Regions from separate parts of the Homo sapiens genome. Here regions 1, 3 and 4 are each linked to region 2. The links are contacts of gene promoters, found by promoter capture Hi-C in human tissues and cell types (Jung and others, 2019). All regions are on one chromosome and are shown on one strand. The core of a region is centred on a gene start or on the middle of the fragment in contact, and the rest is flanking DNA. Distances in the headings are between cores, read along the strand shown. Region 1 overlaps SIX4 (SIX homeobox 4). Region 2 holds the start of TMEM30B (transmembrane protein 30B). Region 3 overlaps MNAT1 (MNAT1 component of CDK activating kinase). Region 4 has its middle 7.1 kb from the start of LINC00644.

Evidence for each region. Contacts are between HindIII fragments. The study calls those that stand out against the background at their distance.
Region 1: a fragment that was not itself captured here is called in contact with the fragment with the promoter of TMEM30B in region 2 in 3 of the 25 tissues and cell types used here (lymphoblastoid cells, mesendoderm cells and thymus).
Region 3: a fragment that was not itself captured here is called in contact with the fragment with the promoter of TMEM30B in region 2 in 2 of the 25 tissues and cell types used here (lymphoblastoid cells and stomach).
Region 4: a contact is called between a fragment that was not itself captured here and the fragment with the promoter of TMEM30B in region 2, in 1 of the 25 tissues and cell types used here (lymphoblastoid cells).

The regions. Positions count from the first base shown.
Region 1 is chr14:60,706,619-60,714,516 of GRCh38, reverse strand. SIX4 (SIX homeobox 4) reads left to right here. Exons shown (of 3, transcript NM_017420.5): 3 at 314-4,978. The coding sequence ends at 1,110. Among named protein-coding and RNA genes, the nearest start is that of SIX4, 14 kb to the left of the region's middle. The HindIII fragment of the contact is 6,478 bases long and covers 796-7,273 here.
Region 2 is chr14:61,279,381-61,286,538 of GRCh38, reverse strand. TMEM30B (transmembrane protein 30B) reads left to right here and starts at 5,201. Exons shown (of 1, transcript NM_001017970.3): 1 at 5,201-7,158. The coding sequence starts at 5,392. The coding sequence ends at 6,447. It also overlaps a transcript of PRKCH not described here. RefSeq lists an enhancer at 5,776-6,739. The HindIII fragment of the contact is 14,970 bases long and covers 1,521-7,158 here.
Region 3 is chr14:60,760,827-60,767,593 of GRCh38, reverse strand. All of the region lies in intron 1 of MNAT1 (MNAT1 component of CDK activating kinase), which reads right to left. Among named protein-coding and RNA genes, the nearest start is that of MNAT1, 29 kb to the right of the region's middle. The HindIII fragment of the contact is 7,906 bases long and covers 1-6,351 here.
Region 4 is chr14:62,143,493-62,150,649 of GRCh38, reverse strand. No RefSeq gene overlaps it. Among named protein-coding and RNA genes, the nearest start is that of LINC00644, 7.1 kb to the right of the region's middle. The HindIII fragment of the contact is 4,608 bases long and covers 2,802-7,157 here.

The DNA of each region.
Region 1 (7,898 bases), core at 2,785-5,284, 570 kb after region 2:
AGTTTTTTTGGCTGTGTTGTTGTTGGGGTTAAACATAAAAGATGTCTCCATACAAAATATATCTATATATATATTTACTTGGAGAGGTAAAAACAGATGTTCTAAGATGTACTAAGTTACACTTTCAAGGAGTAGAGCCTGGGAATCTGTAGTTTTAGGTGCCCAAGGTAATTCTGAACCAGAATTGGGCTAAATGATTGTATGGAAGTGTTGCTTCTTTATAGATACTGTACCTGAGAAAAAAACGTGTGTGTAACTTTTTTTCTTTCCCTCTCACTTCCATCAGTGATAATCAGTACTTTATTTTTTTTAGGTAATATCTCAGTAAGCTCAAGCACTTCAGATGGAAGCACATTTACAAGTGAGTCTACCACAGTCCAGCAAGGAAAGGTTTTCTTGAGCTCTCTTGCTCCCAGTGCAGTGGTATACACGGTTCCTAATACAGGCCAGACTATAGGATCTGTGAAACAGGAAGGCTTGGAAAGGAGCCTGGTATTTTCTCAGTTGATGCCTGTCAATCAGAATGCACAAGTAAATGCAAACCTGTCTTCTGAAAACATCTCGGGGAGTGGCCTGCATCCACTGGCCTCCTCATTAGTTAATGTATCTCCAACTCACAATTTTTCTCTCAGTCCCTCTACACTACTAAATCCCACTGAGCTAAACCGCGACATTGCCGATAGCCAACCAATGTCTGCACCGGTGGCAAGCAAATCTACTGTGACATCTGTCAGCAACACTAACTATGCAACTCTTCAGAACTGCTCCCTTATTACTGGTCAAGACCTATTGTCAGTCCCTATGACTCAGGCTGCCCTTGGGGAAATAGTTCCTACAGCTGAAGATCAGGTAGGTCACCCCTCCCCAGCAGTACATCAGGATTTTGTCCAAGAACATCGTTTGGTTCTGCAATCGGTAGCTAACATGAAAGAGAATTTCTTATCAAATTCTGAGAGCAAAGCAACAAGTAGCTTAATGATGCTGGACTCTAAATCCAAGTATGTCTTAGATGGCATGGTTGATACTGTCTGTGAAGACCTGGAAACAGACAAAAAAGAGCTTGCCAAGCTCCAGACTGTCCAGCTGGATGAAGATATGCAAGACTTATGAACTTTATTTCCTCCTCACCTCTTTTTGGCATCAGCGGCAAATCTTTTCATGAAGCCCCAAGGACACAAAACATTTTCCCATTTAAAGGAAAACACTCTAGTTTTGCAAGTATATGCATACAAGAGACTTTAGATTGATCTGCATGAAGATCACAGTTAAGTATACAGGAGTAGAACTGCATTATTGCAGCCTTTTTGTTCACTTATAAATTTCTCTTTTAAATAGATGGAGACAAAGGACAAGGTGAAATGTATCAAGTCAAAGTGAATCATTTAGTTGACTCTATAATTCTAAGGTCAAAATGGAACTTGATAGTTTTTTAAATTAAAAAATGTATACACCTAACATAGAAAATTAAAGATAGCTGCAGACCATTAGAAATAATACAATTGTTTTTGTTTACTTTTACTCCATGGGCATTGAAAAGGTTAAGAAACATAAATGGTACATATTTTTAAAGTTAAGTAGCATGCATATATATATGCACACACACCTCTTTTTCAGCATTTTTTGAGAAAGTCTTGGGTCTCAAACACATTTGTCTCAACACATTTCCAAATGTGATTTCTAATAGCTCAGTGTGGCTGAGAAAGTGCGGAACTCCACTAAAAACTCTGAAACTTCAGTATAAATGTAAATATATCAGTTCTATAAGCAGGATTTGAGTAATTACAGTGAATTTTATTTTTAATGTATATGTTTCTCTTCAGGCGCTATGAACTGAAAAATATGTTTTCTTACTGTTTAATTTATTTTTATTGTTTGAACAGGAAGTGAACATAGTCGTTTCCAACAAAGTTTTACTTTTTGTAGGATTTTAAAAATAATGATTTTTACCAGGAATCTATTAAGGTCAATATTAATAACACTGAAACAGGAAATCTAACTCCCAATATTGGAATTTTGGTACTTTTTTTCACATCCTTGTTCTTTATTTAGCAACTCTGATTCATTTAAATATGTTTTTTATAGAATTCTATGTGCCTTTTTACCTCGTGGCCTTTTTATTGGTAGTAAGGTACAGAAGTGTCAACAGAAGCACTGATGGTTCTTTTCTACTATCTAACAGGGTTAATTTCACCACAAAATTGCTTTAAATCTGAAGAACTTAAGTTTCACTAAATAATATATATGACATTTATCACACAAATGGATAAACAACTAATTATTGTTGATACTTTTCATTACAAGGAAAATAAGTTATAAATACCATGTCAAATTGATTATACAGGCTATGAAAACCATTTTAAAGGAAAGAAAATATGTAAATTCTATTGAGCAAAATTCTGTCCTGTTGAAACTTAGTTCTAAAGGTTTTGAATCAGTTGTTACACTCTGACACATGACTGTTGTTTGCACTATATTATCATGTCTTCTTTAAAAGTAAATATTTTTGGTTTCTGTAAGAAGCTTGTTTAATAATGTTGTAAGCCGTGGCTATAGTTTTATCAAGACTCTGAACACAAGATGTAACAATGCAAATAAATTTATGTAGTGAGTAAAGTTGCTCTCTAGTCTCTGAAAAGCAAAAAAAGTGAGAAAATAATTTCTTCAGAGATAACTTCAAGTTGTTGAACATAAAGGTGTTAGATGTTAGCACATCTTGCTTTTTTTTTTTTTTTGAGATGGAGTCTCGCTCTGTTGCCCAGGCTGGAGTGCAGTGGCACGATCTTGGCTCACTGCAAGCTCTGCCTCCTGGGTTCACGCCATTCTCCTGCCTCAGCCTCCCGAGTAGCTGGGACTACAGGCACCTGCCACCATGCCCGGCTAAATTTTTGTATTTTTAGTAGAGACGGGGTTTCACCGTGTTAGCCAGGATGGTCTTGATCTCCTGACCTCGTGATCTGCCCGCCTCGGCCTCCCAAAGTGCTGGGATTATAGGCATGAGCCACTGTGCCTGGCCACATCTTGCTTTTTTTTTTATGATCAGAACAAAGGGCCCACTCTAGTTCTCTACATGTCAATCAATCAAGCATGTTGAATAAGGGACATAGAGGATTTAACTTTTGTTATCATAAATGGAACTTGCAGGCATATATCAAGAACCCTATGAAGAATTCCTCTCCCATCATTTTGATAAAGAACTACATCATTTTTGATAGAATTGGTGAATGTTCCTAAACTGCTGAAGCTACATGTTTTTTGTTTTGTTTTACAAAGTCAGGTGTTTGAGAGTTCTTTTCCACTCTACTACTACTCATAGAGCTTGTTTTTTCTTTGGGTGTGTGCTGATCCTGTTACTGAGATTAATTACATGGCTCTGCAGTGTAGTTTACATAAAAATGATGTTTTCCACTTGATTGCTGCAGATATCAAGAGTTTGTTATTTTCAAATACCCATCCAACAAGAGAGATGGGGAGGTTTTTAGTTATATATGCTATATATATATATATAACTGGAAATGTTTTATATGTTTTCCGAAAATACAATAAGCCTCTCTTTTATTCAGTGTTCTTCCTCTTTTCTCCCTTATGAAAAAGAAAAGATAGCACAAAACTTAAGACTTACCTAGGAAACCCATTCATATTCCCACCATGATGTAATTATAACCCTACAATTACTTCAGGTAGCTACACAATATACCAGGTAAGAATCAATGCACAGTATAAAGAACTTATTGTTCTTTTCTATTCTTTCAGTTGAATAAGGGCCAGTTGGTATGCAGCCCATGTATATGTGAATGGAGTAAGATAAACCCCATGATCTCCTTGCACAGAATTGCAAATGTCTTTTGCCATACCAAGGGCCAGACTCAGAACCCTTGGAGTCATGTGGCAGAATTTCCCTCTTACATAAACCAATGCTTGAAAATGCTGCAAATGACCCTCTAATGATCCCTGAAGATCAAAACAGGGGTAAATGACTCCCTGCAAAACCCAACCCATGCTGCTGGCTGTGGGATTTTTGGTGTAAGCCTATCTATGCACTCTATCAGCCAGAATTTGGCATTTAGCTCTTAGTTAAATCTAGTAAAGGACAGTCTATTGTTTAAAGAGAAGGTGCATTTGTTCCTCAATCAAGCAAGAGCACCTGTGTTGTACTGCTTTATATCTCATGTATATTTATAGTAATGAAAAGACTTTTTAAATTGTACACGTTTCAGTGCCTTTCTTGTGTTATGAAAGGCAGGTAGATATTATAGCCATAGGTAAAAATCCATAGTTAAATTGCACACTGACCTTAAATCTCTCTGTGTATGCCCTTGTATCTTGCATGTTAAAAGTTGGATTATTGGGCATGTGTGGCAGCCTGCCCTGCTACATGCTAGACAAGTGTGCTTTAGTACATAGCCACAAGTTCTTCATTCTTTAAAATGTTTTGACAGATCATCTCATAATAAAAATAATTCAGGAAAACTATGGGGAAATAGTTACATTTCACAAAAGATATTTTAAACTCTTTGTAAAACTTAGATAATAGAGCCTAGCAGTTACTTTGTATCTAATTGATACATTTTATGTTAATTTACCACCATACATTTTATTAATCAAAATTGTATAGCATGTGACTCTTTTGGCTTTCAGAGTTCTCAAAAATATTATTTTGTTGCATGTACTGTATGTTTAGAGGCAACCAATTATATACTCAATATGGTTTTACTGTGCCTTACACAAAGAGAAACTCTATACAGAATGTATATCATGGGGTGGGGTAACAGAGTCTTTACTGCACTGTTAGGTGATGGCACACAGAGCATGTCCCAGAACATTTCTGTGCTTAATTACCCAACCAAAGAGATCTGAAGTATGTATGTCGTACTGTAATGGGGGTTTATGCCTGGACAATTAAGTGTTTTATTTGTTTTCTGAAATGATGTGAACTTATTTTTCTAAACACTATGCTAAATAAACTTTATATTTATACATACCTTGCATTGAAAATTATTTGGGAAATATTGTGTTTTTTTAAATATGAATGACTCATCTTACTAGAAAAGAAAAAAGAAATAATGTTGGTTTTATTTATCTCTGGAAAAGGGAAGAAGAGGAAGGGAAAAAACAAACATTCCAAAAGCTGGCAAATGGTTATAAGGCCAATTGGAGTGATTTTGGAAAAATAATCTTTGTCAGTCGTTGTGCAGAATTATGCAATTAACTGTACTACATAGAGGTAAATTATTAGATTGCATCCTCCTTAAAAGGAAGAAGTGTACCTTCCCCTTCCCAGCATTTTTTGTTTTTTGTTTTTTGTTTTTTTGTCCCTAGAGATGAGTGTGATGTTTGGCACACGGCAGTTACTCTGTAGGGTTTAATGGAATTAAATTGAAGGGTCCAAAGACCTCCTATTTTCAACCTTATTGAAAGAGTTCAATATCACCCATCCCTAGGGCACTGCCATTAGCCAAAGTCTGGTACCACCACGGTTGGGTGCACCAATAGTTTCACTGAAAGTAACAAGTAGAACTGCGTTGCTGCTAACTATATAGAAAATTTGGCCTTCGTACAGTTTGGTCCTAATTTTAAAATTACATAACCTGGTTTTCTATGCTTCTACACTGAAAAGAAGGGGAGGTTAATAAAATAGATTGGAAACCAACTGTACAATTCTGTAAAACTAGTTAAAGCCATCAAATTAAATTCAGATATTATATCTAGACTTTTATATTCTTGATATTCCACTCATTTATTTAACAATTTTATATGTAAGTAAACCAGTTAACATGAACAGAGTTTCAATGAGTTCAACCACTCCAGCCAATGAAGTGGTTACATTTTAGAACATTAAACAAATATTTTTAAAAATTGGACAAGATCATTGCTGTACGTAAAACATTTGTGGCTCCTCAGAAACTAGCAAATTAAATAAAAACCCTCAATGGGAATTCAAGGCCTTCAGCTATATGGTTCCACCCCACTTGTTCACTTGCCCTTAAGAAACAATAAATGGGCCAAGCACAGTGACTTAGGCCTGTAATCTCAGCACTTTGGGAGGAAGAGGCAGAAGGAGGCGGAAGGATCACTTGAGCCCAGGAAGCTCCAGTGAGCTAGGGTGGTGCAACTGTACTGCAACCTGGGTGACAGCAAATTCCTGTATCAAAAAAAAAAAAAGCAATAAATGAAAATTTACCTTTGCATATCACCATTTCCAATACAGTAGATAGTAAATAAATAAACAAGACACATTCAGATAACGGTCAGTGTTATAAAGTTGACAACAAGGAGTAATGAAATTGATAATATGAAATGTTAGGGTGGGAGACATACATTAGATTGATCAAGGAAGTTCTCTAAGGAAGTAACATTTCAGCAGAGGTAATTGAATAAGGAGGAAGCCAGCCAGCAAGACCTAGAAAAGAGCATTCCAGACATAGGGAACAGCAGGTACAAAGGCCCTGAGGGAGGGACAGAGTGTCTGGATTACGGCGCTAACTCCAGGGGTCATGCGATAAATCTAGCCAGAGAGGTAGGCAAGGGCAGATCAAAGGTAGAGCTTTATTGGTCTCAAATAGTTTGAATTTGAGTCTGAGAAGCCACTCATGGCTTGTAAGCAAGGAGTAATATAACATGATTTACACTTTAAAATGTTGCCATGGCTAATCTGGGAAATGGAGTTGCAGGAGGCAGGAGAGCCGGAACTAGGAAACTATTACCATGTTGCCCTGAGCTGTCAGACAGGAGATACTTCAGGAGCTCTTGAACTGCACCTAGGGCAGTTTGCCCTCCAACTGTCTCCAGAATTTTGTGCTCTCCAAGACTTGTGTCTATTCTGCTGCCTGCTGTTAGCCAAAGCCACTTACTGCTACTGAAGATGATTGTCACAGCCTGAACCTGTCCCCTGGTAGATCCAGCTCCCTAATAGATATTTTCAAAATGTCCCAGTCCACCTAAGATTCTACATGTGGAAAATTAAACTCTCATCTCCCTAAGCCTGCCCCAACTCTGTGTTGTTCATTTCAGCAACATGTATTCACCCAGATGGCCAGACAAAAATCTGGGATTCACTCTGGAGTCTTGTCTCCCTTTCTTCTCCCTACCTTTATCAGATCACAAGTCTATCCAAGTCTGCTCTTTTACAGTCTTTTGATTCAGTTTCTTCTTCTCCATTACTAAGGTTACTCCTACAGTTTAGGCACTTACCATTTCTCTACTGAATTATTGCAACTGCTTCCTACCTGGTATCCTAGTGTCTGGTCCTGATTTTGGCCACATTACAACTACATCCAAATGGAACTTCCAGAATTCAAGACTTAACCCAGCCTCGTTTTCCACTTTAAAACCTTCCATGGCTCTTCATTGCCTATGAAATACCGTTTAAACCCTTTACCATAAGAAGTCTCCAAGATCCAGGCCCTGCCTCTCTGCCTACTCACATCTCTAGCCACATAAAACTGTTCGCCAAAGGAACCAGATTCCTTCATAACGACCCAATCCCCAAGACTCACTCAATGTCACATCTTCAGGAAGCCTTGTCTTACTTTCACAAGTAGAATTGTGCATAGCCCATTCTGTGATTAGACAGGGATTTATACCTTCCTTTAGTGTGGCACTAATGTACTTATCACTGTAAGTATATGTTTGCCTCTTTACATATTCATCTTGGTTTCTCCAGCATTTAGTATTATGCATGGGACATAGGAGGCACTTAAAATTTATTTGTTGAATGAATAGTGATGGTAACAGGCATCCATAACTTTAAATCATTTCATTGCTATGGATTAGGGAACTATATTGCTAAACTGGTTAAAATATTATCCCTATGTAGAGCACAAAAATAAATCAATACATTTTGGGGTAGACCCTGAGAGTGGTTCCTCAAATCTTTTAACATTAGTGAATGGTCTTTATGG
Region 2 (7,158 bases), core at 3,952-6,451:
TCCCAAAGTGCTGGGATTACAGGTGTGAGTTCACCCTCTCTTTGACCACTGTTTTGCAGTAAGTTAGTGACAAAGAACCAACACACCGTGGCAGGGAGTGGAGAGAATTCGCTTCTGTCTTTTGTGCCTCTGGTGCTTACAGTGCTAGTTAATTAAAGTTTCTCTGCATCTTCCACTAGGGGGTACCACTCCATAACTTTTGAAACAGAAGTCTGCTGGATGCAGTTCTTAATAAAAAATGAAGTCCAGGCACAAAGAATTTTTTTAAAACTTTTCTGAGCGCATGCTGTAATTTTATGAAGCAATTTAATTTGATTCTTTTTAAATAAAAGCTGCCCCATGGGCAGAGTAATAGGCAACAATCTTGAGCAGTATAAACCTATATAAGGGAATGCCAATTAAAAACCCAGGTTCTGTTACAGTAAGATAAATAGTCATGAATTAAATGAACTACATGCAAAAACTGAGAACAGCCAGACAAGTGAAGTTATTTTTATTCTAGCAAGAGAAATGAGCATGCTAAACAAAAGTTGGATTTAAAACAAAAGCTTTTGTAAAAACAAAAATACAAGCAACTCAGCTGTTCCTGGGACTCTGTGTAAATGGAACAGAGTTTGCTTATCTTTGGGGTGTTAAGAGAAGATCTGCAACAATAAACACTGGTTCAAGGTTAACGTTTTTGGAGTTTTTTGAGGAGGAAATATGCCAAGGCCTTACAGTGTAGCATGGTTGAAGAAACAGGACACTGGAATTAAGCTGCCCTTTGAATCCCTCATCTCCCCATTACAACTATGAGAACTCAGGCAGCCTCCATTGCACTGGCTTGAATCTTAGTTTTGCATCAGTTCTTTGAGTATAATTGGACTGAATGCCCCCCATTTGTGTACAAATTAGATGGGACAATGTATATAAAGTGTTTACGCAGTGACTGTAAGTACTGATTCACAGAAGGTACTCAATAAAAGTTAGCTATTATTCAATGAGTCATTGTAAGGAAGACTAGGAACAGAAATCTTTGCTTAAAAAAGACACACTAACAATCATTTTGGTAAACACGTTCGTACAGATAAGCAATCATGAGAACAGAGAAGTTAAGCAATTTGACCAAGGTCACACAGTTATATCCTAAGGAACTTTCAGGGTAGAATCTGAACTTCCTTAAGGTCCGGCCAGCATTCTTTCCCCTATCCAATACTATTCTCCTAGTATCTGAGAGTTTATTGGCATAGACTAAATATATTCTGTGCTTAGCTCTTGGTTTTGTTGGCAAATTTTTGGTGAAAGTATCAAAATATATACATTGGTGTGGCAGTGTAAATATGACTCCAGCAGTATGTATTTTTAAAGAGCTTCACCTTTAAGTCCCTTTCCTACTTTTAGAATTTTATCCCAAGGAAAAAAATCTGAAAGAAAACGTTAGGGGGAAAGGGAGACACATAGTTTTTTTTAAAAAGGGTTATATGCAGAAAAGATGGTCACTATCATATACTTTGGAATACTGAAAAACTGGATATAACCTACATGTCCAACAATAGTTAAATATGATAGACCTATGAATTATGGCACCATTAAGGAACATAGAAAATATTTATTTCAATCTTCATCTCATTCCAAAATGAGGTAATTTGACAACTAGAATAATTGTGTGTATATCTTAATTACAATCTATTAAAAATTAAATATTTACATGGATAAAGTCTGGGAGATAAAATGAAAAAATGAAGTGATTTTAGCAGTATTTGGACTAGAAATGCCTTTTTTCTTTTCCTTTGAGTTCTTAATAACACTGATACAAAAAACAATTTTAGAGTGAACTTGTTTCTTATTTTACTGGTACTAAAGAGTTTACATGATCCAAGCATCCTTTAATACATCACAACATATGTAATAAAATGAGAGAAATGAGATCTGAACCTTCCTTACATAGTGAACTCTGAGGAACACGACAATGTATATCTATATCAGTCTTCCACCTCTCGGAACTTACGAGCTGGTAGGGGAAATATAGTGTATACATGGACCTTGGTACAGCTTCACCTCCAAGATCTTTAACACCCCATCTCATACCAGCACTTTTTCCTCCCAGCTTTCACGGCACCTGCCAATTAACATTATTAGGACTGCCAATCTACCAGTATCTTCTTTTTCTTTTGATCCACAGGGTTGGTTTCATTTTCTTCGCCTTTCAGATTAACTACTAAGGCACATCTCTTTAGCCACCCCTCCACAAGGACTGCAATACCTTGAATTTTTTATCTTTCAAATTCATCTGCCCTGAAAACCACCATATGCTGGTCACACTCAGTCATTTCTTTCTCCCAGCCTGAGGTGCGGGAGCCCAATACCCAGCTGCATTCTGCAGAGGGCATTTTTATCACCCTGCCCTCTTGTTTCAGAGGTGAGATAACTCTGCACCTGTTCTCTGAAACCAGTGGCTCTGGCTGGTGGATCAGCGTCTCCAGCCTGCTCCTGCCTTTGCACTATCAGTAAGCTTGCCACCCCTCTTTTCAACCTCATCTGCACTATTATCTTTTTCCCTCAGGATACACACTTCTCTGACATCTAAAAAAGAAGCCTTTCCTTTAGGATACATGCTCTTCTAGACAGTTATCACTTGCCTTTCTCCTTCCCTTTCCACACATTTCTAAAAACAGGCTTTCCCCTTTAGAACCCCATTCTCTCTTTTTTTATTTTATTTTTATTTTTTGAGACAGGGTCTTGTTCTGTTGTCCAGGCTGGAGTACAGTGGCGCAATCATAACTCCCTGGTTAAAGCTATCCTCCCACCTCAGCCTCTTGAGTAGCTGGGACCTCAGGCACATGCCACCACACCCAGATAATTTGTTTTTATTTTTTGTAGAAACAAGATCTCGTTATATTGCCCAGGCTAGTCTCAAACTGCTGGGCTCAAGTGATCCTCCTGCCTTGGCCTCCCGAAGTGCTTGAATTATAGGCATGAGCCACCATGCCCAGCAAGACCTCATCTCCAAAAAATAAAAATAAAAATAAAAAAAGAGTGTCTTCCTATCTTGCTATCTGCTTCCCTTTCCCTGCACCTGATGGTAACCTCATTCCTGCCACACAAACCACCCAAAGTGTTCCCACAAAAGTCAAACCCCATAATTCCTTTTCATTTATCTCACTTGAACCCTCAGCTGTGTTTAACTCTGCTGACCATTCCTTGTCTTGAAATATTCTCTTTTGACTTTGAAAATCTGTCACCTTAATTAGTGGAATGAATAAACTAGTACCTTTAGGCCATCCAGGAATAGGAGAAAAGGAGGAAAGGCTCTGAGCTCAAGAATGGGGCTTGCCCTTTTAGGGGTGTGGTGGTGATCTACTAGAAAAAAGACTTAAGATTTACCAGATAGGCTTGGTGTGATGGCTCACACCTATAATCCCAACAATTTGGGAGGCTGAGGCAGAAGGATCTCTTGGGCTCAAGAGTTTGAGACAAGCCTGGACAACTGAGGGAGACACCTCTCTCTCAAAAAAAAAAAAATCTACAAAAGTTGTGAAAACTGAATTCCTTCCTAGAGACGAGTTTTGTGGACTAGTGATTCAATGAAACGGGTGGGTGGAACTCAACCATAATGATACAAAGAACTATTTATTCTTTTATTGAAAAAAAGGGTGACTGGAGACTGGATCACACTGTGGGAACTTGCTGAGAATTTTGGAACTTCCTCTCTTTGGGTATGATAAGAAGTGAGGGAATTGAAATTCAAGTCACTTGAATTTCCCTCAGTCTTCTATAATACCTGGTTTCCAACTTGCATTCATTTAACAAACTGGAATCAATGTTCCATTATTAAATCAATATTACTTTTTAATTTTAATGTGACTTGTAGAATGCAATTTGATACTTGATTACACCCTATGATTCATAGCTATTATTGGCTATTTTGATTGTTTCTTACTCCTAATATGTCCCCTATCAAACTGCAAATGCCTTGAGGTCAAAGGTCCTTTTTTGTCTAATTAGCATAGGACTGAACACTTGGAAGATGCTAACAACATTCCTCTGTTAAATTTAATAAGGATTTTAACTTTCCAAGTTCAATGGGTTTTGAATGACTCCTGAATATAATATATTATGCTAGGTGTAGTGTAATAGAGAAAACATTTGTATTACTTGCATTTTACAAGCTGGAGGAGAAGCAAGAACACAATACCTAGGGAAGATTTAGATTTAGTAAGAAATCAGAACGTCCCAATACCCCCTTGTATATGTTTTACCAACCTAGATTTAAAAAAAAAAAAAAAAAAGCCAGAATCCCAGGCAACATAGGGAGCTAATTTGAGTTCTTTTTATAATAAATCCTATAAATCCTTGTAGTTTACTTCCTTAGGCCAGACACTCCAGATGTTTTTGTGGATAGCAGCTAGGTCTCCTGGGACCTTGGATTGGGCCTTTCTCTAGTCAGGCAAATAATCTGAAAAGAAAACGAAATCACATGTAGTCCAGCACATTTTTTCCTTTCTTGGTTTCTCCACACCAGCTAAGAGTTATTTAAAGGCTCTGAACCTCTCCAGCCTTTGATTCTTTTTAAGGATGATTTTATTTTTAGAGAACTTTCCACATTTCCTAGTTATACAGCCAGACTGGGTGATCTGGCCAGAAAATCATTTTCCCTTAAAAAAAAAAAAAAAAAAAAAAAAAAAAAAAGCTAAAATTTGAACGCAGGCGTTGAATTCGAAACAGATTTATCATAACGTAATTCCCTGGACACTCCCAACTTGAGACTGAAAGCTGGGCGAAAGCGGTTTGTGAAGCTAACCTAAAAGACAAAATGGTCTAGAGCCACCTTTTCCCCGCAAATAACAGAGGATTAAGGATCTGAAATCTTCAAGCCTCCAGGACCACGGTGCAAGCCCTCAGCAAAAATTTCTGCTGGAGGCCGGAGCGCCTTTTGATTTCGGGAGACTGGCCCAGGAACTCTAGTCACTTGGAAGGCGGAAGAGAAGGTGGTACCTGAGCCAGGTAGGAGCCACTCAGAGGCAGCCCGGGGCCGCCACTCACCTAGGAGAGGAGGTGGAGTCCGATGACCTGGACTGAGAGGAAACGCGAGACTGAGTCTACCAGGTGAGGTAAAAAACACCCACCTGCTCACCTCGGAAGGGGCGGGCGAGGTGCGGCTCCCGGTGACCCGCGGGGGTGCAGCGCACCTGGGCGGAGGCGGAACTGGGAGGGTGTGGGCACTGCTCGTAGGGCCTGGAACTAAACTCACCTGTGACGGAGGCAGAGGAGGGGCCCGGGCAAAAACCCACCTGAGCTGGCGGGAAACCCGACCCGCGAGCAGTCCCCGGGCTTGCGCGGCGCGGAGAGGGAGGCGCCCCGCGGCGGGGCCCCCACTCGGTCAGCCCGCGCGTCGGTCCCCGCGCGGCCGCCATGACCTGGAGCGCCACGGCCCGGGGCGCCCACCAGCCCGACAACACCGCCTTCACTCAGCAGCGCCTCCCCGCCTGGCAGCCGCTGCTGTCGGCCAGCATCGCGCTGCCGCTCTTCTTCTGCGCGGGCCTGGCCTTCATCGGCCTGGGCCTGGGCCTCTACTACTCCTCCAACGGCATCAAGGAGCTGGAGTACGACTATACAGGCGACCCGGGCACCGGTAACTGCTCGGTGTGCGCCGCGGCTGGCCAGGGCCGGGCGCTGCCGCCCCCCTGCTCGTGCGCCTGGTACTTCTCGCTGCCCGAGCTCTTCCAGGGCCCAGTGTACCTCTACTACGAGCTGACCAACTTCTACCAGAACAACCGGCGCTACGGCGTGTCCCGCGACGACGCGCAGCTGAGCGGACTCCCCAGCGCGCTGCGCCACCCTGTCAACGAGTGCGCCCCCTACCAGCGCAGCGCGGCCGGCCTGCCCATCGCGCCCTGCGGCGCCATCGCCAACAGCCTCTTCAACGACTCCTTCTCGCTTTGGCACCAGCGCCAGCCCGGCGGGCCCTACGTCGAGGTGCCGCTCGACCGCTCCGGCATCGCCTGGTGGACCGACTACCACGTCAAGTTCCGCAACCCGCCGCTGGTCAACGGCAGCCTGGCGTTGGCCTTCCAGGGCACGGCGCCCCCGCCCAACTGGCGCCGGCCAGTCTACGAGCTCAGCCCCGACCCCAACAACACCGGCTTCATCAATCAGGACTTCGTGGTGTGGATGCGCACGGCGGCGCTGCCCACGTTCCGCAAACTGTACGCGCGCATCCGCCAGGGCAACTACTCGGCCGGGCTGCCGCGGGGCGCCTACCGCGTCAACATCACCTACAACTACCCGGTGCGCGCGTTCGGCGGCCACAAGCTCCTCATCTTCAGCAGCATCTCGTGGATGGGTGGCAAGAACCCCTTCCTGGGCATCGCCTACCTGGTCGTCGGCTCCCTCTGCATCCTCACCGGCTTTGTCATGCTGGTCGTCTACATTCGCTACCAGGACCAGGACGACGACGACGAGGAGTGATTCCGGCTTTCCAGGGATCCCTCCTGCTTCTTGCCAAAACTCTTGCAAGGTGCTTTTGGCATCTCCTCCTCGCCCGTCACCCAATTCCAACCTCGCCTAGCTTTTCCTCCCTTTGTGAATGAGGGGACCAGATAAGGGAATTACCCCCCTTGCTCTTGGGGGGCTGCTAGACTGTCTTGCCGCGGGGAGGGATGTTGACTGCAGAGTGAAACATCCTTGCAAACTCTTCCCACCTCCTTCACGACACTGAGTTGCCATGTGAGGTTCTTCAAGTCTGAGAGTGGAAGGGATCCCTATGGAGACTCCTATTAAACCCCTATTAGAGGAAGAGATTGAGAGACCTAGCAATGTGAAGTAACAAAGATCAGGCAGCTGCAAGTGACTCCTGAATCTTGAGTCCAGGGCTTTCGCCACTACAGTACAGTGGTTTTCTTTTCTTTGGTCGGGGAGAGTGGGCTGGAATGGAGAGTGAGGCCCACAAATTACCTGCAGAGACGTGGAGGCGTGAGGGAGAACATGCTTGTTAAATATGCAGGTAGATTAGGAGACACCAAACAGAGATTCAGACACAGTAAGGCTGGGATGAGATCCTCGAAGCTGTGTTTTAACAAACTCCACTGGAGAGTCCCATATTCCCTCAAATTTGGGAATCACGACCCTGAACCAGGTTGGGCCTGAAGCAGTCAACTGAATTCACTTTTTCGGATAGTA
Region 3 (6,767 bases), core at 1,149-3,648, 520 kb after region 2:
AATTTAAATTAAAAAAAAAACTGAACTGTTCTTGCCTCCAAGATCAATTAGAAAACCCGGAAGGGTCTCACAGATATAATTACCACTTGGATTTTATTTACTTTCTTCAGCCATCCTCTATGTATCTTAAGTCCCTTAAAATAGGCCCCAAAACTGGCCTCAATTCTCCCCACAAGTGTAGAGTATCCAAAAAAGATCCCAGATGGACAAACTGTAGTAAAAAGAAATACTGAGCCAGACTAAGGCAGTAAGCTGGCCAGACAAAGCAAGGTATGTTAGACTACAGGTTTGCAGAGTAACCTGAATGTTCCAGGAACTCACAAAACCATAAGTCACAAATCTACAAAGCACAAGGGTTTCTTGTACATATTACCATTGAAATGCTCCTCCACTTTGCCTTCCAGAATGTAGTTTAGGTTTATATTGCATTTCCAATCCAAAAGTGTATTGTTAACACCTCAAGAAGCATATGGAAACCATTTCCCTGAGCTGTTCCTATATTAAAAATGTTTACTATAAGAGAAACAGATCTCTGAATCCAAACCTTAACAACTTATTAAAGCAGAAACTCTCAAACTTGATTTACTTACAAACAATAGTTTTTATTATTGAATTGTTTCCTTATATTTTCTCCATATTATCTGAAACCATTTCCTATTTCTAAAAGAATATTTATTCTTGCATTTGTATTACTGTTTCAAGTTTTCAACTATAATGTATTTGAAGTTCTAACAAACACCTACCCAATTCATCTTGTTGTTCAAAATAATTAAATTATATTAATAAGCCTCCCCAAAATGAAATCTAGTCATACAATGAATAGTATTAGATATTCATTAATTGTCCCATATCTAAAAGTTTCTCAAAAAGATTTTTGTTTTTTTTGAGACGGAGTCTTGCTCTGTCGCCAGGCTGGAGTGCAGTGGCGCGATCAGCTCACTGCAACCTCTGCCTCCCGGGTTCAAGCAATTCTCGTGCCTCAGCCTCCCGAGTAGCTGGGATTACAGGCATGCGCCACCACACCCAGCTAATTTTTGTATTTTTAATAGAAATGGAGTTTCACCATGTTGGCCAGGATGGTCTCGATCTCCTGACGTCATGATCCACCGGCCTTGGCCTCCCAAAGTGCTGGGATTACAGGCCTGAGCCACCACGCCAGGCCACAAAAAGATTTTTAAAACAAGACGAATACCCAAAAAAGGAGTAAGGGGGAGTAATTTGTATTTCTTTTTTTTCTTTTTTTTTTTTTGACAGAGTCTCGCTCTGTCACCCAGGCTGGAGTGCAGTGGCTTTATCTCAACTCATTATAACCTCCGCCTCCCGGGTTCAAGCAATTCTCTGTCTACGCCTCCCAAGTAGCTGGGATTATGGGCGCCCACCACCAAGCCTGGCTAATTTTTGTATTTTTAGTAGAGACAGGGTTTCACCACCTTGGCCAAGCCGGTCTCAAACTCCTGACCTTGTGATCTACCCGCCTAGGCCTCCAAAGTGCTGAGATTACAGGTGTAAGCCACTGCACCCAGTGGAGTTTGTTATTTAACAGATGCAATCCTTTTACATTATCTAAATCATCTTCTTAAAAATCACTTAAAAGAGAAATTAGAAAGTTAAAATTTTCATTTTAAAAGAATTAATCATTTTTAAGTTATACATTTAATTTTATAAGTCAAGATTTTATATATTTCTAAGATTATAGGTTTTAAATTTATAGAGGCAGATTTTGAGGATTCTACACTTTAATAAAGAATATATCCAACCTCTGCTAGAGTCACAACCATATGACAAATAAAAGCTCAAAATTTTTAACACAGTACTGTATGTCTTAGATTGCCTAGAGGTATAAGATTTTTATATTCAGTCTAACCATAAATAGAAGCCATCATCAATAATCTAGTCTGGGTAGGCCTCTGTTTTCCAATGATTATTTTAATCTTATGAAAGCTCTATTGTTTTTTAATTTTCCAAACATGTTTTGTGTGTGTTATACAGCTTTCTTGTCACTAGCTTCTCCAGCACTAGACATAGCATCAGACTGTTTAGTTATATTCCAAACTTTGTTTTTAATTTTTTAAATTATACTTTAAGTTCTGGGATACATGTGCAGAACGTGCAGGTTTGTTACATAAGTATACACATGCCATGGTGGTTTGCTGCACCCATCAACCTGTCATCTACATCAGGTATTTCTCCTAATGCTATCCCTCAACTAGCCCCCAACCCACCGACAGGCCCCAGTGTGTGATGTTTCCCTCCCTGTGTCCATGTGTTCTCATTATTCAACTCCCACTTATGAGTGAGACGTTTGTTTGAGATGGAGTCTCTGTTGCCCAAGCTGGAGTGCAGTGGCACGATCTTGGCTCACTTGCCCAAGCTGGAGTGCAGTGGCACGATCTTGGCTCACTGCAACCTCCGCCTCCCAGGTTCAAGTGATTCTCATGTCTCAGCCTCCCAAGTAGCTGGAATTACAGGCATGCGCCGCAAGCCCAGCTAATTTTTGTATTTTTAGTAGAAACGGGGGTTTCACCATGTTGGCCGGGCTGGTCTCGAACTCCTGACCTCAGGTGATCCACCCGCCTCAGCCTCCCAAAGTGCTGGGATTACAAGCATGAGCAACCGCGCCTGGCCTATATTCCAAACTCTGGTCACAACCTTCTGAACTGGGAGCTCTCAGTCCCTCATTATACACACTGCCCCTTTGATCTCATCCAGATCTCCAATCCTTTATATTTCCTTTTTCTCCTAATTACAGCTTACTCCTACTTACACTTCCTTTTATAATCAGGCCAGACTCCAAAGACCTACCATTTCAGCTACTACCATTTGCTAATTTATTTATTTGCCTATTTATTTACGTATACACATTCCTTGCCTTGTTCCAGAAGAGATTTCACTGAATCTTGAAAATTACATTCTTCACTTGGGCATCAAAATCCAGAATGTGAGAATTATCTTAGACCGCTTCTTCTTACCCTCACAGCCACAGAATCACCAAATCCTCTCAATTTACCATCTAAATCTGTCTCAAATCTTCCCTACTTTCTTCAATTCAACTCTAATGCTTTAATGTCTTCTTCATACTTAAGGTAAAACAAGGGACCAAAAGTATGGGTTCCAACCCAAATAGCCCATTAACTTCTGGCTGTTTGTGATAAGCTTTAAGACAATTAGCTTCACTATCTGATAGACAAAAACAGTCACTGGTATAGCAGACACAAAATCATAAACAAGAGAAAAGAAAGAATGTACTGAAGAAAAATGGCATTGATCTTCCAGAAAAAGAGGGCTACACCAGGATTATGTATTTTAAGTACATAAGTATATAACCCCTTTTATTTTTGAGCTTCAACATTATTGCAGAAAATAACATGTACACATAAACTTTTCACTTTACATATATAAGTAGTTTAACAGATATATCATACCACTAACAAATATTACATAACACTCTAAAAAGAGAACAATTAAGTCAGGCTTAACCGCATTAAAAAGTGATCATTAAAAGACAGTACTGTGTATAGCTAGCAAAATCAACTATTTTCCATGCTAGGCAATGACTCAAGAATTACAAACTGTCACCAATACCTGCATTAAACATAAACCCAGACAGTAAGCAATTGTCATGGAAAGATAAATCCATGTGACTATATCTCTGAAGCTTAAGCAAAACTAGTTTACATGAAGCAAAACAGTTTATTAAATAACCATATCTAAAGCAGCCCTTTGTTTTGACAATAAGTAATTTAATCATTTTTCCATCACTGTGGATCTAAAAGGTATGTTAAAATGTTATACTCCGCCAGGTGGATTAATATGGATTTATTAAATTATGCTTAGACTAACACTGCTTCCTGGTCATTGTAGTTCCAAATTAAAGATAATGATAGGTTTAGAGAAATAATTGTGCTCAATTATTACTCACCAAAAATTCTGAGTTTTCACTGCTTGATGACTTACACTAGAGTAGGAAGGCAGACGATACACACAGCACATTCATAAACTGGGATTTAACCGAGTGAAAATTGAACTGAAAGAACATTAAGGTCTCTAACCTTACTAAATTACAATGGAGTCCAATACATAAAATGCTTTAGTCAGGGAAAATTAGACAAGTCACTTAATCACTCTGTACCCTATTTTATTCATCTATAAAATAAAAATATGGACTAGATATTCTCTGAGATCTCTTCCAGCATAAAGAGCATATGATTCAAAGGAATTATTATATGTACCTATGCTGGAAAATAATAAACCACTCCACTTTAATTATTCATTTAAAATGATATAGGTTGTAGCTGCTGCATTTATTAAAAAGTCCTAACCAGCAATGCAGCAATGGCCATTTCATCTATAAATTAATTAAAGATAAATGATAAAGATAAGTGTGATCATTTTGAATCTCAGTAAGAAATTTCCATTAGCACCAATGAAAATTGTGTAAATTAACTCCCTACGCATGACTTTTTTCTTAACTTCCCTAATTTAGTTTAACTGGAGAAAAAGCCAGGTATGAATCTGCAGTGTTTCAATGCTGAAACAGCTTTAAAAGAAAAATATATTCTTTTATCTATTAAAATTAAGAAGTTGTACTAGATGATTTATAAGGTTCCTTTTGGCTTTAAAGTCCATACATGATAATAAGCTATCTCTGTACAACAACTGATAAACCAAACTGCAAACTGAGCTACAAGAAATTATGTTTTCTTTATTTTGTTTATATAAATTTACCACTGAGCTCAGTAAAAATTTCCGGCCAAGTGGTAGTCACAATTTAGTTTTTGGTTTAGCATATAGAAAAATTACTGACAAAATACCATAATGTAAGGGAAGGAAAAAAAAAGAATATCATAATCATTTTACCACACAATGTCTTTTTTTTTTTTTTTTTTTTGAGACAGAGTCTCGCTCTGTTGCCCAGAATGGAGTGCAGAGGTGTGATCTCTGCTCACTGCAGCCTCCGCCTCCCAAGTTCAAGCGATTCTCCTGCCTCAGCCTCCCGGGTAGCTGGAATTACAGGCATCCACCACCATGCCTGGCTAATTTTTGTATTTTTAGTAGAGATGACATTTAGTAGAGATGTCATTTAGTAGAGATGACATTAGTGGGCCAGGCTGGTCTCGAACTCCTAACCTCAGGTGATCCTCCCACCTCCACCTCCTAAATTGCTGGGATTACAGGTGTGAGCCACTGTGCCTGGCCACAGTGTCTTTACATACTTCCCATCATTCACTCTCCTGATAATCTATTTGAAACCACCTATAATCCATCATAAGATATTACAGAAAAGAATTCCCTAAAAATTTTTTCATGAAGCTGAGTCTTGCCCAGAAAGCAATAAATACATCAAATAATTCTTTAGGGTTTTTTCCTCCTGAGATTTTGGGATGAGATTTCTAAACAAAGAGAGATGATTATGGTGTCCCAAACTTCAAGTCACTGACTCAAATCAAAGCAGCAATTTGCTGTGTTAAAAGAGCAGATGATTGATGTAATAGGAAAAGAAGGAAGAAACTTGAAGAAAAATAGAATCAGTAAAACATGGGAAAAAGAAAAAATGAATATCTGATTTTTTAATGTTGCAATGTATAAAGCACTAGAATTAGAACGTACCAGTTCACAGATCTAGATAGTTTGATCCCACTTACAGCCGGGACATTAATTTATATATGCTAAAAACTGTCAAACCACACAAAATAGGTTAAATAACTAAATAACACATTTAAACAAAACCATTATTTACAAAACAAGATATAAGAAAGGGAAAGCAGCTCATAACACATTTAATTAGTGTTACACTTGATAAGGAAAGAAACCTAATTACTAGGGCAAAAGATAAGATCATTCTGTAACTATGAATATGTTTGGCACATAGTCTTACCCAAATATTTGTTGAATAAAAGCAGCAGTGAAGACTGTAAAAGGAAAACATAACCCTAAAAAGAAACATGCAATAAAGGAAATATAACCTAAACAAAGAGAGCTGCTTTGCAACTTTTTGAAAATATCTAAATTTAATAAGCATCAACATAAATTTTTCAGTGCTGTCATAGTTTAAGCTACTACCTTAGTGCTAAGGATTGAAAAATAAACAATTTGAAAACCTGAAAATTAGATAATCCCAAACTTTAAAAGTCACTTTCTTCTCCTCAATTATTAAGGGCTCTCAGGTAAATTATAGTTTTCACTTAGAGAACACTGTTCAAAGAGTTCCTACTTGAAGGTTACCCTGAAATGTTTGTCTTAGTTAAAACTCAAATGTATTGTGGTATTGTGATTTAAGGGCCAAGTGAATATCAAATGATTGGTGACCCCAGATGACTATCTGAACTTGACTATTCCTAGAATCTGGTATGTGGATAACCTTCTACAACAGGGAACCCTTCCAACCCTAACTTAACTCAGTCTGTGGGCAAAAAAAAGTACCACAAGCCAGTACACGTTGCTTCACACTCTAAATTAAATAAATAGATCATGACACACAATCCATGCCCAAAAACAAAGAAGTAAACACATTACATATTAATACATTTTCCAAAGGAGTTATTCATAAGCGTCTAGCAAGAAAAAAAGTACAATGGCCAAAAGAGTTGAGAAAAATTCATTTTCTTGCACCCAAAATGTGCAAAATCTTTGGTTTTCTTTGTGATATTTTGGAGACTTTGCTAAAGCTGCTGTTGAATGAGAACACCTAGGCTACCATCATGAAAATCAATAATGCACCTGGTAAGAACACAAAAGACTGACTCACCTGTGTGGAATCCATTAGCCTT
Region 4 (7,157 bases), core at 3,856-6,355, 860 kb before region 2:
ACAGCGATTCTTAAACGTTGTTTCCAAAAACAATTTTAAAGAATAATACAAGTTTGGGAGGCCGAGGCGGGCGGATCACCTGAGGTTGGGAGTTCAAGACCAACCTGACCAACATGGGGAAACCCCGTCTCTACTAAAAATACAAAATTAGCCAGGTGTGGTGGCACATGCCTGTAGTCCCAGCTACTCAGGAGGCTGAGGCAGGAGAAGCGCTTGAACCTGGGAGGCAGAGGTTGTGGTGAGCCGAGGTCGCACCATTGCACTCCAGCCTGGGAAACAAGAGCAAAACTCTGTCTTAAAAAATAATAATAATAGTAATAATATTAATAATAATTTAAAAAAAAAATAATACAGAGCTAGAGTCTTTGCTTTAAACATTGTTTATTAACAGTTTATATTTTCTTTTTTAAGAATAATTTTTAAAGGTGGAAGAATGGGAGTGGGGGTGAGGAATGAAATACTAACTAAGGGTACAATATATACCACTTGGATGATGAGTACATTAACAGCCCAGACTTCACCACTACATATCAGTATACAAAACTACATTTGTACCCCAATTCTATTTTTTAAATTTAAATTTAAAAATATTTTTTATATTTTTATTCAGTCTTATAACCATATTTCTGCCATTCATTTATACTTTTGTGTTTAACTAATTTCAGTATTCATTGCCGATTTTATTTGCATTTTTTTTCATAAGTTATTTGGGTACAGGTGGTATTTGGTTACATGAGTAAGTTCTTTAGGGGTTATTTGTGAGATATTGGTGCACCCATTACCCAAGGAGTATACACTGCACCATATTTATTGTCTTTTAACCCTCGCCCCCTCCCATTCTTCCCTCCAAATCCCCAAAGTTCATTGTATCATTCTTATGCCTTTGCACCTTTATAGCTTAGCTCCCACATATCAGTGAGAACATACAACGTTTGGTTTTCCATTCCTGAGTTATATCACGTAGAATAATAGTCTCCAATCTCCTCCAGGTCACTGCAAATGCTGTTAATTCATTCACTTTTATCGCTGCATAGTATTCCATAGTATATATTATATATATATATATATATACACACACAACAGTTTATTTATCCACTCGCTGATTGATGGGCATTTGGGTTGGTTCCACGATTTTGCAATTGTGAACTGTGCTGCTATAAACATGCGTGTGCAAATATCTTTTTCAAATAATGACTTCTTTTCCTCTGGACAGATACCCAGTAGTAAGATTGCTGGATGAAATGGTAATTCCACTTTTAGTTCTTTAAGGAATCTCCACACCGTTTTCCATAGTGGCTGTACTAGTTTACATTCCCACCAGCAGTGTAGAAGTGTTCCCTATTCACCACATCCATGCCAGCATCTACTGTTTTTTGATTTTTTGATTATGACCATTCTCGCAGAAGTAAGGTGGTATCACATTGTGGTTTTGATTTGCATTTCTCTCATCGTTAGTGATGTTGAGCATTATTTTCATATGCTTGTTGGCCATATGTATATCTTCTTTTGAGAATTGTCTATTCATGTTCTTAGCCCACTTTTTGATGGGATTGTTTGTTTTTTTTTCTTACTAATTTGAGTTCGTTGTAGATTCTGGATATTAGTCTTTTGTCAGATGTATAGATTGTGAAGATTTTCTCCCACTCTGTGGGTTATTCCTGTTATTCCTGGGTTATTCTGACTGTTCCTTTTGCTGTGCAAAAGCTCTTTAGTTTAATTAGGCCCTGGCTATTTATCTTGGTTTTTATTGCATTTGCTTTTGGGTTCTTGGTCATGAAATCCTTGCCGAAGCCAATGTCTACAAGGGTTTTTCCAATGTTATCTTGTAGAATTTTTGTAGTTTCAGGTCTTCGGTTTAAGTCCTTAATCTATCTTGAGTTGATTTTTGTATAAGGTGAGAGATGAGGATCCAGTTTCATTCTCCTATGTGTGGCTAGTCAACTATCCCAGAACCATTTGTTGAAAAGGGTTCCCTTTCCCCACTTTATGCTTTTGTTTGCTTTGTCGAAGATCAGTTGGCTGTAAGCACTGGATTTATTTCTGGGTTCTCTATTCTGTTCCATTGGTCTATGTGCCTATTTTTATACCAGTACCATGCTGTTTTGATGATTATGGCCTTATGGTATAGTTTGAAATCAGGTAGTGTGATGCCTCCAGATTTGTTCTTTTTGCTTAGTCTTGCTTTGGCTATGTGAGCTCTTTTTTGGTTCCATATGAATTTTAGAATTGTTTTTTTCTAATTCTGTGAAGAATGATGATGGCATTCTGACAGGGACTGCATTGAATTTGTAGACTGCTTTAGCAGTATGGTCATTTTCACAATATTGATTCTACCCATCCATGAGCATGAGATGTGTTTCCATTTGTTTGTGTCATCTATGGTTTCTTTCAGTAGTGTTTTGTAGTTTTCCTTGCAGAGGTCTTTTGACTCCTTTGTTAGGTATAGTCCTAAGTACTTTTTTTACAACTATTGTAAAACGGGTTGAGTTCTTGATTTGGTCTCTGCTTGGTTGCTGTTGGTGTATAGAGGAGCTAGTGATTTGTGTACATTGATCTTGTATCTGGAAACTTTGCTGAATTCTTTTATCAGTTCTAGGAGCTTTCTAGAGGAGTCCTTAGAGTTTTCAAGGTAAACAATCATATTGTCAGCAAACAGTGATAGTTTGACTTCCTCTTTACCAATTTGGATGCCCTTTATTTCTTTCTCTTGTCTGATTGCTCTGGCTAGGAGTTCCAGTACTATGTTGAAGAGGAGTGGTGAGAGTGGGCATCCTTGTCTCGTTCAGCTCTCAGAGGGAATGCTTTCAACTTTTCTCCATGCAGTATTATGTTGGCTGTGGTTTTTAATAGATGGTTTTTATTACCTTAAGATATGTCCCTTGTATGCCGATTTTGCTGAGAGTTTTAATCATCAAGCAACACTGGATTTTGTCAAATGCTTTTTCTGCATCTATTGAGATGATAATGTGATTTTTGCTTTTGATTCTGTTTATGTGGTATATCACATTTATTGACTTGCATATGTTAAACCATCCCTGCATTCCTGGTATGAAATCCACTCGATCATGGTGGATGATCTTTTTGATATTATCTTGTTGGGTTTGGTTAGCTAGTATTTTGTTAAGGATTTTAGCATCTACATTCATCAAGGATATCGGTCTGTAGTTTTATTTTTTGGTTGTGTCCTTTCCTGGTTTGGGTATTAGGGTGGCTTCATAGAATGAATTAGGGAGGGTTTCTTCTTTCTCTATCTTGTGGAATAGTGTCAAAAGGATTGGTACCAATTCTTCTTTGAATGTCTGGTAGAATTCTGCTGTGAATCCATCTGGTCCTGGACTTTTTTGTGTTGGTAATTTTTAAATTACCATTTCAATCTCACTGCTTGTTATTGGTCTGTTCGTGGTATCTCATTCTTCCTGAATTAAGCTAGGAAGGTTGTATTTTTCCAAGAATTTATCCATCTCTTCTAGATATTCTAGTTTATGTGCATAAAGGTGTTCATGGTAGCCTTGAATGATCTTTTGTATTTCAATGGGGTCAGTTGTAATATCTCCCCTTTTGTTTCTTAGTGAGATTATTTGCAGGTACCATTGCTTTCATCATGTTCTTTGTTGCCTGTGTACACTGATTTTTTTTGTTTTTTTTTTAACTTGTATTTTTGTTTTATAGGTCCTGTGTGATTTTTGCTTTAAAGAGGTTCTGTTTGATGTGTTTCCAGGATTTGTTTCAAGATTTAGAGCTCCTTTTAGAAGTCCTTGTAGTGGTGGCTTGGTAATTTGTCAACTTTTCCTCAAACACAGTGAGCCTTTAATCTGTATGCTGAGAAGTATTTTCTTCAGTGATTTCTTTTAGTATCTCTTCTGTGACAATTGTTTATCCTTCATAAATCTTTACACTTTAAACATTTTTCTCCACTGCATGGCCTCTGTAAATATTCTTTTTCATGATATTTAAAACTCTAATTAATTTTTGCCTCTGCATTATGGAAGAAGTCATTAAATTTGCTTTCATATTGCTACTCTCTGTTACTGATTTTATATTAACCTTCTGCTGTTTCTGATGTTGATTTTAATTCTGTTTTGTATTTTTAATTGCTGTGTAATCTTTTTTCATTGCATTCAGCTTCAGCTTCACCTTGAAATAGTGGCTTTTGAGCTCATCTGGTCATCTTTTCTCTGTAACTTTTTCGCTTTTTATAGCTTTTCATTCCTATTTTATAGATGCCATATCGTCACATATGTTACTGTGGACACTAACTTTTTCTAAACTTTTTTCTGACACCAGGAATTCATCATTTGAAGAGACTGTCATTCCTCTGAATTTTAACAATTATGTAATATCTCTTGTATTCCAACATAATTTTACATGTTGAGCAACATCCCAGCTGTTGTTGAAGTCTGTTATTATTTTTCAGTTTACTCCTCGTGGAAAGAGAAAAGATCTATCTAGTCCCAATGTTTGCCAACACACAGGGGTTATGGCTTAGCTCTAACACAGCTTACTACAATTGGAGGGTATAATGATATATTAGCATCTAACTTGATTTCCAGGGTTTAGAGATATTCTGCTATTATGGCTCTGCTGGATTTCAGTGAAATCATTAATCCTATTCCTGCTATTTGACTATCTGATTTGGTGAACCATTGGAGTATTCGGGCTGTTCTTCTTTTTGCTCCCACCCACAGGATTTTTATATATTGGTACTCTATCTCCAGTAATACAAAGTAAAACTGTTTGCCACCTCCCCACCCAAATGCTGATATCTTGTCCTGTTGTTTTCTGGAAGTTTCAGTATCCAAACGAATGTTGAAAAAGAGGTACTAATGAGGAAGGAGAAAATAAGGGTTGGGACGTGGAGACAGTACTCAGATAGGACTATAAAGACCCCAATCAGAAGGCAAGCAAAGGAATAAGAAAGGGATGATGATGGGTTAGTTAAGTTTCAGGTGGCAAAATAGATGTCAACATCACTTCAGCTCCATTTGTCTTAGAAAATAGAAAATTATCCCAGAAACTGGCAATAGATAAGGTGCAGCTTAGGTTTAAAGCTATTTTGAGTTTGTGTGTAGTGAGGGGAACAGTGGTTCATAGGGAGACAGTGTGTGCCTTTACAGTGGACATCATAGTAGAAAGTAGGGGGTCAGTCAAGGGATTATTGACATGTATATTTCAACCCAGAAGTTTCTACCCTACACTGTAGACCTGCAAAAATCTGCTAGGAAATTGTTGAAATTGCCCACTACCTAAAAACTCTTAAAGTTGGCAATTGCTTCGTATGCCTGAAGGGAAAATACAGATAAATTCAACCTCCACTGGAATCAGGTGGAAGAGGATAAAGATTTAGTAGTTTAAATGCACTATTAATTTATGTTGAAGTCACTGAAAATATTCATATCTTATAAGTAATATTAATTACTGCTAGCAGAGTGTTCCTATTCCATTTGGGCTTGCAAATGTCAGCAGAAACCCAAGTCTGCCACAAATCAACATAATAAGATAATATTTCTGAAATATTACCAGATGTATTTTCATTTTCTAAAATTCTTGTTTCATACATGGAAGCTGAGGCATCCAGCACTTCAGAGGAAGGAAAGATACAGCCAAGAACAACAAAGAAATTGTCCAACGTTGACTTTCAAAACAAACTTTCTAAAAGAGCATAAGTAGAAACAATAGTCTTTAGTTGCCAGAGCCAGGCATTGGAGAGAAAGGAGTTCTCTTAATCAAACAGTGTCTCTCTAAATATCCAGAATTATCTCTGGCTAATGCTTTTCTCCTTTTGCCTAAACTAGTTGTGTTTCGGTCACATGTAGTAAGAAGAATCCTTATCAATATATTGCTTTTTTAATGTGCTAAACTGTAGCTTCAATGTACAATACTCAGTGAACTGAGCTCTGGGTTCAAAATTAAGAACCCCAAATTTTATATTTACTTATCACTGCCTTTCGATGTAAGGTTGAGCAATCCATCAGTTTGCTGTTTTCAGTTTAATGGATTTCACCTAAAACTCCATCTTTTCTTTGAAGCCTTTCCTGGCTATGGATAAAAGCAGTCTGTCTCAGTACTAATTCTTCCATCTATTAATATGATCTCTTGCAATATACTTGAAATTAGCATATAATATCCCTACCTCTTTTACTAATTTGATTTTAGCATAATATTTCTTTTATTTACTTGTTTGAAGATTTGCTCTGAGTAAATAACAATGCAAGACTAAAATAATAACAGCTGTTGTGTTGCTCCATGATGGTGCCTACAGAGGTTAGAAATTGGATCTTTTTATCGTCCTGAAAGCACCTTCTTCAGCACCACATGCATTTGTCATTGTGCTCCATTTTAGCGTCTCCATTTATTTAACACGTCTTCTACTTGGTAGTTTCATTTAGTTATTAACTGTTCATTCGCAATATAAATTCTCTTTTATTGCCAGTGAATAGGAAGTGTGTGTTTTGTTCCATGGACTTACTTTCATTATCATCCTAGTAAGTAAGTATGAGTTTACCTGAGTTTTACTATGTGTGAAGTGCCCTGTAAAGGGAATTTCACAGACAGGTCTATATCTATTCATTTATTCATTCAAGAAACATTTATTTAGTTCATGAGGATAAAGAGAAAAACAAAAGACACTCATTCTCCTGGGGACGTCACAGAGTAGAGGAGGGGACAGACAAAACCAGTTATGGCAACAAAGAATAACAGGGCTGTGAAACATGACTAGAATAATATTGAAGCTTAACTCCTTTATTCTCTAGAATTTGTTAATGATTATGTTATAAGGCTACTGAAACAACTGCTGAACATGTTATCATAATTACTGAAAAATGTTCAGAACTGGGGAGGAGTTGAGATTTCCGGCTTCTACCCCAGATTTCCATCTTGAATCACATAACCTCTTGGGTTCTGTTCTCTCTATAAAAGGAGAATGCTACGTGAGATGGCCTCCAACATTCTCTCTGGCTATCACATGCTACAAATCTGTAATTCTAAAGGCTACAGAAGAAACTTCTCTACAACTAGTTCAAACTGCAACCTCTCAATAACACATAGCTTTGAAGTTCTGGTTCACTGCCATCTTATCTAGCTATGTTTAATCTCCCCTCAAGATGAACTATCTGCGTGGGAATTAAAAATTGGACACATTATTGGTAACTATACCA